Regions from separate parts of the Homo sapiens genome. Here region 1 is linked to region 2. The links are contacts of gene promoters, found by promoter capture Hi-C in human tissues and cell types (Jung and others, 2019). All regions are on one chromosome and are shown on one strand. The core of a region is centred on a gene start or on the middle of the fragment in contact, and the rest is flanking DNA. Distances in the headings are between cores, read along the strand shown.

Region 1 (4,850 bases), core at 1,360-3,859, 190 kb before region 2:
TTGTACTCCAGCCTGGCCAATGAGAGCGAAACTCCATCTCAAAAAAGAAAAAGAAAAAAAATACAGCTGACCATATATGTGAGTGTTTATTCTGGGCTCTCTATTCTTCCTTTTTTTTTTTTTTTTTTTTGAGACAGAGTCTCGTTCTGACACCAGGCTGGAACGCAGTGGTGCAATCTCGGCTGGCTGCAACCTCCACCTCCCGGGTTCAAGTGATTCTCCTGCCTCAGCCTCCGGAGTAGCTGGGACTACAGGCGCGTGCCACCACGCCCAGCTGATTTTTGTATTTTTAGTAGAGACGGGGTTTCACCATGTTGGCTAGCATGGTCTCGATCTCTTGGCCTCGTGATCTGCCCACCTCGGCCTCCCAAAGTGCTGGGATTACAGGCGTAAGCCACCGCGCCCGACCCTCTATTCTCTTTTGTTGGTTTACCTGCCTGTTCTTACGCCAGTACCACACTGTGTCTTACACATTACATTTAATCCTCACGATACCTTTTTGAAGTAGAGATTCTTATTCTATAATTGAGGAAACAATCTCAGAAAAAATTACCTGAAGGAAACACAGCTAGTAACCGGAAAGCTACAGTTTAAATGTATCCAATTCTAAAAATTGGAAATAAAATCAGTTTTGTTTTGTCGAGATGGAGTCTCCCTCTGTCGCCCAGGCTGCAGTGCAGTGGCGCGATCTTGGCTCACTGCAACCTCCACCTCCCGGGTTCAAGCAATTCTCCTGCCTCGGCCTCCTGAGTAGCTGGGATTACAGGTGCCCACCACCACACCCAGCTAATTTTTGCATTTTTTTTAGTAGGGATGGGGTTTCACCATGTCGGCAGACTGGTCTCAAACTCCTGACCTCAAGTGATCCACCCGCCTCGACCTCCCAAAGTGTTGGGATTACAGGCGTAAGCCACCACACCTGGCCTAAAACCAGTTTCTAGAAACACATTTCTCCATAGGGAATTGAACGCAGACTGTTAGAAGCACCAAAACAAAATAAATTTACAACAACCCTGCAATGTTGAAACTCATTAACCCATTCAACAGACTTTTTGAGTGAATATTTTGTGAGACATTGGTGTTAGAAGCTGTAGGTGGGGAAACTGATTTGTGAATAAGTTGAGCAGTAGGTTCAAACTCCCCCAACTTGTTCCTTCAGAGCCAGGCTTTATCCTGTTATGTCGTGCTGCCCCATCAGGGAAGGTGGGGCTTGGTATGTACATTGTTATCTTTAGATACAAAAATCTCCTACTATCTGGGGAATGTGAATAACCTCCCTGAAGAACAACTGCATCTTCTAGTCAGCCTACCACCAAGAAGACATTTTGGAACTTTAGTTTGGATAGTTTATAATATAAAAATAATGGAATTTTTTCCATTTCTCATATAAGAAATTGTGTCATAATACTGGACAATCTTTTTCCAAACTATCTTTGTCCACACACATGTTGTTATGAATCATCGATTTAAAGAGTCAGTAGGGGCCGGGCGCGGTGGTTCAACCCTGTAATCCCAGCACTTTGGGAGGCCGAGGTGGGCGGATCACGCGGTCAAGAGATGGAGACCATCCTGGCCAACATGGTGAAACCCCGTCTCTACTAAAAATACAAAAGTTAGCTGGACGTGGTGGTCGCGCGCCTGTAGTCCCATCTACTCGGGAGGCGGAAGTTTCAGTGAGCCGAATGCACTCCAGCCTGACGACAGAGCGAGACTCCGTCTCAAAAAATAAAAAATAAAAATAAAAAATAAAGGGTCAGTAGGTTAGAGCCTCATTTTGGAGAGAAGTTAATATATAGACCTATTGATAGAATGGAGAAAACAATACTGGTAGGTCTCACTTGTCATTTATTGAGCCCAAAGTGCTGGGATTACAGGCGTGAGCCACGGCGCCCGGCCTGACACCACTGTTAAATTAGGGAGAAAGGGTTTACTTTCTACCAGAAAGGCTGTGTTTGAACACAAACGCAGAAGCCTCGCTCTTCATTCTAGCCTAAGTTTACTTTTGCGCACTTATTCTCCATATGAGGAAAACAGCAAGTAGCCCAATTTCCGCTTCAGGAAGTTAAAGACATTAACTTGGCAGAAATCGGCCGGGCGCGGTGGCTCACGCCTGTAATCCCAGCACTTTGGAAGGCTGAGGCGGGCGGATCACGAGGCCAGGAGATCGAGACCATCCTGGCTAACACGGTGAAACCCCGGCTCTACTAAAAATACAAAAAATCAGCCGGGCGTGGTGGCGGGCGCCTGTAGTCCCAGCTACTCGGGAGGCTGAGGCAGGAGAATGGCGTGAACCCGGGAGGCGGAGCTCGCAGTGAGCCGAGATCGCGTCACTGCACTCCAACCTGGGCGACAGAGCGAGACTCCGTCTCAAAAAAAAAGCTAAAAAAAAAACCTTGGCAGAAATCTAGCTAATAGGTTTAGCCTGGGAAATAGAAAGCAAGGAAATTGCTCAGGGAAACTTTTCGGTTCTGCGACGCATGCGTTCAGCCTCCAAGAAAGTGGCAAATACGGCTGCGCGAATTGGCGGCCCGGCCCTCCTTGGTCACGTGTTGGGAGACAGCGGCGTGGCGGCGGCGGTGGCGGTAGCGACGGCACGCCGTAGGGCGGTCAGAAGGTTTCCGGTTCCGGTGTAACGTTCGGGCTCCGTCTCAGGGGCTGAAGTTTGTGAGGTGAGTAGTGGCCCCGGGCCCACAGAGGGTAATTCCAGTCCGCGCCACTGTGGCCGGGGACTCAGTCCAAGGGGAGGACCGAAGCGGGAGGGTTCAGCGGGAAGGAGTGTGAAAGGAGTACCTGGTTTGGTGGGAGAAGAGGTTGGAATGAGATTGTTGAGAGGAAAAGGGCGGGGGCGGGAAGGAGACCGGGTTGGGAGACCAGCTCTGGGGTGAGGAGTTTAGGTAGAACAAGGTAGAGTAAGAGACTGGTTGGAGTGACGGAGAGAGTAAAAATGAAGATTAGCGGGGGAGTGGGGGGCTGCAGAGGGAAACTCAGGTTGTAGCAAACAAGAGCACGGAGTAAGGAATTCCTTCTGAAGACTGGATTTGGATTCTGCTGCCTGCTCATTGAGAGGAGAGATCATTGTACCTCGCTTTCCTTCCGCACCCCCACTACCCCCGCACCTCGCAGTTATTGTTGAGCATTTGATTAGTGACAAGGCTAATTACCGTTTGAAACTTTTTTATCCATTGGCTGTTTAGTTTGCACGTCATCTTATGGAGGTAACAGTGGCACCTCATTTATTGCTTTGGGCTTTCAAATTGCTTATACTTTCTAGCCTATCATTCAATTCTAGTGGAATATAAGACCCGTTAAGGTGAGGACTCTTGTTAGTTTTGCTCACTGTTTTATGTATCCACCGCACCTAGTACATTGCTTGACACTTAGTAGTTACTCAATAAATATTTATTGAATGAATTAGGATGTAAATATGGCAGTACTCATTTTGTAAGATGGTAAACTGTGGCTCCAAAGAATTACTTAACTTGCCCAAGGGCTTGTAAATGGTGGGGCTCAGTGTCCCAACTGTTTCTGTGTGAACTCTTGTTTTCACTTTCTATGGCATCTGGATATGCCGCTTTTGTGCAATACATGTGTAATATGTAGAAATTGGTACGCTGTATGTCTACTCATTGTGGGGTAATAGAACCACCATAGAATTACTCACGTAACTTGTCACTGAGGCAGAAAATCTTTCAGTCTTAGTTTCATCACTTCAATCTACTAGCTTCCTTTGGATATACCAAAAGTGAGTCTATTTGGCATCAAGTCTTATAGACTCTAGTATAGAGGCTAAACTTACCAAGAATGTAGAAGTTAATCAGACTGGATTTTTTGGAGAAAAGATGTCTTAAAACATCTTGAAAGATGATTCCCAGATCTTTGATAAGTGGCACTGCTGGGAATAGCTGAGCTTGGAAATTGAGGTCAGTCAATTTATTGACTCCCATTTAGACACCTTTTTTTTTTTTCCCCGGGACGGAGTCTTGCTCTGTCGCCCAGGCTGGAGTGCAGTGGTGCGATCTCGGCTCACTGCAACCTCCGCCTTCCATGTTCAAGGGATTCTCCTGTCTCAGCCTCCAGAGTAGCTGGGATTACAGGTGCAGGTCACCACGCCCAGCTAATATTTGTATTTTTAATAGGGATGCGGTTTCACCATGTTGGCCAGGCTGGTCTCGAACTCCTGACGTCAGATAATCCACCCGCCTTGGCCTCCCAAAGTGTTGGGATTACAGGCGTGAGCCACCGCACCTGGCTTTTTTTTTTTTTTTTTTTTTTTTGGAGACACAGTTTCACTCTGTCGCTCAGGCTGGAGTGCACATGATTTTGGCTCACCGCAACCTCCGCCTCCTGGGTTCAAGTGATTTTCCTGCCTCTGCCTCATAAGTAGCTGGGATTACAGGTGCCCACCACCTCACCTGGCTAATTTTTGTATTTTTAGTAGAGACAGGTGCAGTGGGTCACGCCTGTAATCCCAGAACTTTCGGAGGTCAAGGTGGGCAGATCACTTGAGGTAAGGCATTACCTGGCCGATATGGTGAAACCGTGTCTTTATTAAAACTACGAAATTGGCCAGGCGTGGTGGTGCATGCCTGTAGTCCCAGCTACTTGGGAGGCTGAGGCAGGAGAATCAAGTGAACCCAGGAGATGGAGGTTGCAGTGAACCAAGATTACGCCACTGCACTCCAGCCTGGGCGACGGAGTGAGACTCTGTCTCAAAATAAAAATGAGGGTATTCTTTTCTGAGCTGAAGGATCATCAAGTCAGCTGATGGAGACCCTGTAGATTGAACATGATAATTACCTGTATGCAGAATTCCCACTGGGATGAATATGACCACAGAGAAATGTGACAGA
Region 2 (4,865 bases), core at 2,309-4,808:
TTAAAAACTGGAAGGTGATCTTGGGTACACAATTCGTGATACTTCCACCATTCCATCCACCCCCCCCTTTTTCCTTTCAAGGCAGGCGGGTGCCCTGGAGCGTCCAGTCCTCATTCACCGAGCAGTGCTCGGTTCTGTGGAAAGACTGTTGGGAGTGCTGGCAGAAAGCTGCGGGGGGAAATGGTGAGACCTCTGACCTGGATTTCTGTTCTGGCCCCAAACCGGATAGTTATGCTCCAGATCCTGTCCCCCTTCATATGCCAGCCTCTTTCCTTCTCAAGTCTGCTCCATACAAGCACACTTCTGGCCAGAGCCAGAGTGACTAATTTGCCATCACCTGTTCTTTCCCTACCAGGCCACTGTGGCTGTCCCCGTTCCAGGTGGTGGTCATCCCTGTGGGGAGTGAGCAAGAGGAATACGCCAAAGAGGTAAGGAGTTGAGGTAAGGGAGGGGGCAGAAGCAGGTCCAGTAGAGAGTCTGGTGCCCTGCAGTGGGCAGGAAGAGGCTGCAGGGGTGGTAGAGGAAGGAGCACAGCCCTCACAGCCACAAGACTGGGCTCGAGTGGCTGCTGTCCTAGATGCTGGAAATCCTGTATCTAAAAAATGTGACTAATGCCTACCTTGTAGAGATGTATGAAAATTAAACAAATTAACAAATGTTGAAAGCCACCAAAAGAGCACTTGGCACAAAACTGGGATTGAGTACACAGTTTTATTTTTCCTTTCTAGAGAGAATTGAGGATATGGATGGTACCAGAGTCAAACAGCTGGTTGGGTAGAGCAGTGGCTAGAAGGCAAAGTCCACGGAATAACTGGGGGGTCATCTCCAGTAGGAGGCAGAAAGATTGTGGGGTTGGGGATGAATGGGGAGGAGGCCTCAATGTGGAGATGAAATGAGGAGAGGTTGCTGGTAAGAAGTGGAGAGCCCCGAGGCAGGGAAAGGAGGAACAGATGGGGGCATTGAGGGAAAAGAGCATCAGACTGTTCTAGCTCCTTAACTTTCCAGTAAATTAACTTCCTGTCACCAAACCTCTGTTGCAGGCACAGCAGAGCCTGCGGGCTGCAGGACTGGTCAGTGACCTGGATGCAGACTCTGGACTGACCCTCAGCCGGAGAATCCGCCGGGCCCAGCTTGCCCACTACAATTTTCAGTTTGGTAAGCTGAACCTCAGAGCCAATGTTCTCCCACCTGCCGTCTGCATTCTTGCTGTTAAGTTTACCAAGTCTGGTAATGCATATTTGGGTTAATTGGGGCTCATTACCTGAGCAGGTAGGAGCCAGGATTCAGGACACCTGACTCATTTGGGCCCTGTGTTCCTTCACATTGCCCTGCCCTCCCCATAACCACTTCTGACACTCAAAATAGTTTTCCTCTTTTTAACTCCACTCTAGCTGTTGGTGTCTGTTAGGTTAATTAACCAAGGGAGCATCAGAGAGAAAGGGACGGGAGGGTTAATACAGCGTTAATTACCCTTGTTTATTTTAGACCTAGATGGAATCAGCCCTAAGGGATGAGGAGAAAGGCCTTAGGGAGAAAATTCTGGCACTGCCATGCTCCCTTTTTCATTTTCCAGGGTTCAGGGCTCTATCTCAAAGGTGAGGAGCAGAAACTCCTCAGCCAGATTACCTGATTCTTGAGTTTTGCACACCCCACTCTCCCTACAAGCACCCAGAGCAAGCTGTGCTGCAATCCCAGGGACTTGTACATGGCCCCTTTCCCTCCCTTACCGCCCAGTCAGCCCCTGCATACATCCTCCTCAGCAGAGGCCCCTCACTCTGTGAATCCAGCCCTAACAGACACCAAGAGCCAGAGTGGGACTGATGAGAGGAAACTGTTCTAAGGGTCAGAGTGGTTGGGGGGAGGCGGGGCAGTGTGAAGGCCACACCACTCCTGCCACCTTCCACTTGCTCTAATACCCCCTTCAGACACGCGCGCGCACACACACACACACACACACACACACACAGTTTCTCTCTGTGGGGTTCTCATTGTTTGTCTTTCTCTGCTTGACTCTAATGTCTCTGACACACACACACACACACACACACACACACACAGTTTCTCTCTGTGGGGTTCTCAGTGTTTGTCTTTCTCTGCTTGACTCTTATGTCTCTGACCCTGGGGCTCTTGACCAGAAGCGATAAGGCCTGCGGGGACTGAAGCACTTCCTTGTCTCCTCAGGATGAGCAGGACTGGTCATTTAGTATTAGCAGACACAGCTGAATACTTCCTTTCTGTGAACCATATCTGGGCTCTGCTCCCACCCTTCCTAAAGATTTAGGTCTCTCAAGTTTCTGCAGAGCAAAAGAAACTGTTCCATGTGGGTGAATTTGCCCTGAGGTTCCCAAACTTCCTCTACCTGCAGTGGTTGGCCAGAAAGAGCAAAGTAAGAGAACAGTGAACATTCGGACTCGAGATAATCGTCGCCTTGGGGAGTGGGACTTGCCTGAGGCTGTGCAGCGACTGGTGGAGCTACAGAACACGAGGGTCCCAAATGCCGAAGAAATTTTCTGAGCCTTTGTACATAGATGAGGCAAAAACCTGCGAGTGCCATCAGCCTCCCTCACATGGGAGACCCCAACCCAGCTGACAATGTGGAGCCCCCAGAACTTCAGAACTGTGTGGAGGCACATGTCTGCTCTCCTGAAAAGAGACTTGGTTTGGGGACCCCACAAAAGGAGGGAAGCTGTAGCTGTTTGGATGTGAGGAGAATGAAACTACAAAAAAAAATAAATTGGGCCAGGCGCAGTGGCTCATGCCTGTAATCCCAGCACTCTGGGAGGCTGAGGCGGACGGATCATGAGGTCAGGAGATCAAGACCACCCTGGCTAACACGGTGAAACCCTGTCTCTACTAAAAATACAAAAAATTAGCCGGGCATGGTGGCACACGCCTGTAATCCCAGCTACTCAGGAGGCTGAGGCAGGAGAATCGCTTGAACCCGGGAGGTAGAGGTTGCAGTGAGCTGAGATTGCGCCACTGCACCCCCCTAGGCGACAGAGCGAGACTCTGTCTCTAAATAAATAAATAAATAAATAAATACAAACTGGAAGCTGCTGGTCATATGTCTTCATCTCTGACTCTGGAGAGGTGGGATAAAAGGATGTTCCACTTTGTCTCCCTCTTTTTTGTCCCAGAGAGTTAGGGAAATTGAAAAGGGACAGTCCAGACCTCACACTGGTAGGGGAGATCCCTTGGATAGGTTTCCTGCTCCCCGCTGTAAACTCCTTTGTGCCCTGTTTCCCCAACCCCAGTTCATGAGTTGGCAGATCCCCTCTCCACAGAAGGCAGCCTGTAGATGGAGAAACTGAGGCACAAACTAGGGGCTCAAACACCTCTTGCTCCTGGATTCTCTGAATCAGTTTCTCTTGAAGGTCATAAGAATGTTCTCCTCTAATCAGTCCCATTCTTCTCAATCCTCTGAGGAGGCTTCAGGGTGACTTTGGGAGGAGTGGCTTCCAGAGGAGGAGCAGCTGGGACTGAGTCATGGCAGGAAGCTGAGGAGGGCGGGAGATCACACCAGACAATTATAAAAGAAGAGCTGGTCCTGAAGCTCACAACCGTAACAGCCACCAGACAAGCTTCAGTGGCCGGCCCTTCACATCCAGACTTGCCTGAGAGGACCCACCTCTGAGTGTCCAGTGGTCAGTTGCCCCAGGATGGGGACCACAGCCAGAGCAGCCTTGGTCTTGACCTATTTGGCTGTTGCTTCTGCTGCCTCTGAGGGAGGTGAGTTGGGGGATCAGCACTTAGGAGGGGGTCTGGGCTTGCATGGCAGGGGTCTGGGTCCAGGCATCCCAGACGGCTCATCACTAGCAGAGTGATTCTCCGTTTGGCTTTCCTTTTCTGAGCAGGCCCAAAGTGGGCCTAGGCCAGTGGAGCCTTTAACCAAGGAGGCAGAGAGCAGGGGCACAGAAGGAGAGGGGTTCCTAGAAACTGCTGCCAAGAAACACAGAATCCCAGTCAAATAGACAACTGAGTGGGGGGTGGGTTCACAGAGTGAGGGTCTCCTGCTGATGAGGATGTAGGGAGGTGGCTGGTGGGAGAGGCAAGGGAGGGAAAAGGGGCCCCCAGGCTGCTCAAAACCGGATTGCTGGCCCAGCAAGCCTCGACTGACTCCCTGTCTGATTAGAGGAGTTGAGGGGTGTCCATCCACAGACCCACCCTCCATCCAGCACAAACACATTCTTTATCTGCTTTGATGCCTGAACAAAACAGGAACCCCTCAATGCTATGGGTGGAAACTAAGAAAAAAAGGAAAAGAAAAGGAAAAAAACCACCCAGGGCACTCCTGCAGGAAGCTGCTGAGGATGTCAGCAAATCTGTCCACTTCTCTGTGAAGCCCCATGCCATCATTCTTCCCAGCTCCTGGTCTTTTGTGTCTGCAGATCACCTACAAGTGACCCTTCCCTGTGCCTGTCCCAGTCCCCCAGGCCCTAAATTGAGACCTAAACTAAGGCGGAGCTGAGACTGGCTGAAGGGGAAGCACTCAACCTTCAGGAAGCCTCCTTAACCAAAGGCCTAAAGATGTTTCAAGGGCCTGGAGTAGGAGGGTGGGTGGAGGAGGTGGATTGGGTAGGCTCCAACCAGCTCAAGGTCCAGACTTTTTCCTCTGAAAGCTAGAGACGCATCCCAGCAGAGACTGGGGAGGACAACCCACAGCCCTGAGGGAAAGACTGGCAGAGGAAATGAGGGCCTCCCTCCCCAATCCCGTATGCCATACTCCCTTTAGGCCCAACCTCTGAGCCAGTAGAGGTGGAGCTATCAGACCGCCACAGGCTTTCTCAGAACCCAGCTGGTCATGTCTAGGTGTGTTGGGGCTGGGAGAGGATTAGGGGACACGGGGCAGGTGAATACAGAGGGGC

The links. The method cuts DNA at HindIII sites, captures the fragments that hold promoters and counts their contacts. A contact is called where the count stands out against the background at its distance.
Region 1: a contact is called between the fragment with the promoter of PRPF3 here and the fragment with the promoter of ECM1 in region 2, in 1 of the 25 tissues and cell types used here (liver).

What each region holds. Positions count from the first base shown.
Region 1 is chr1:150,318,924-150,323,773 of GRCh38, forward strand. It overlaps PRPF3 (pre-mRNA processing factor 3), which reads left to right and starts at 2,610. Exons shown (of 16, transcript NM_004698.4): 1 at 2,610-2,669. RefSeq lists enhancers at 1,724-2,289, 2,419-2,468, 2,659-2,708. The HindIII fragment of the contact is 24,557 bases long and covers 1-4,850 here.
Region 2 is chr1:150,504,551-150,509,415 of GRCh38, forward strand. It overlaps ECM1 (extracellular matrix protein 1), which reads left to right and starts at 3,559. Exons shown (of 10, transcript NM_004425.4): 1 at 3,559-3,729. The coding sequence starts at 3,660. It overlaps TARS2 (threonyl-tRNA synthetase 2, mitochondrial), which reads left to right. Exons shown (of 18, transcript NM_025150.5): 15 at 82-183; 16 at 356-428; 17 at 1,041-1,155; 18 at 2,366-3,052. The coding sequence ends at 2,514. The HindIII fragment of the contact is 11,585 bases long and covers 1-4,865 here.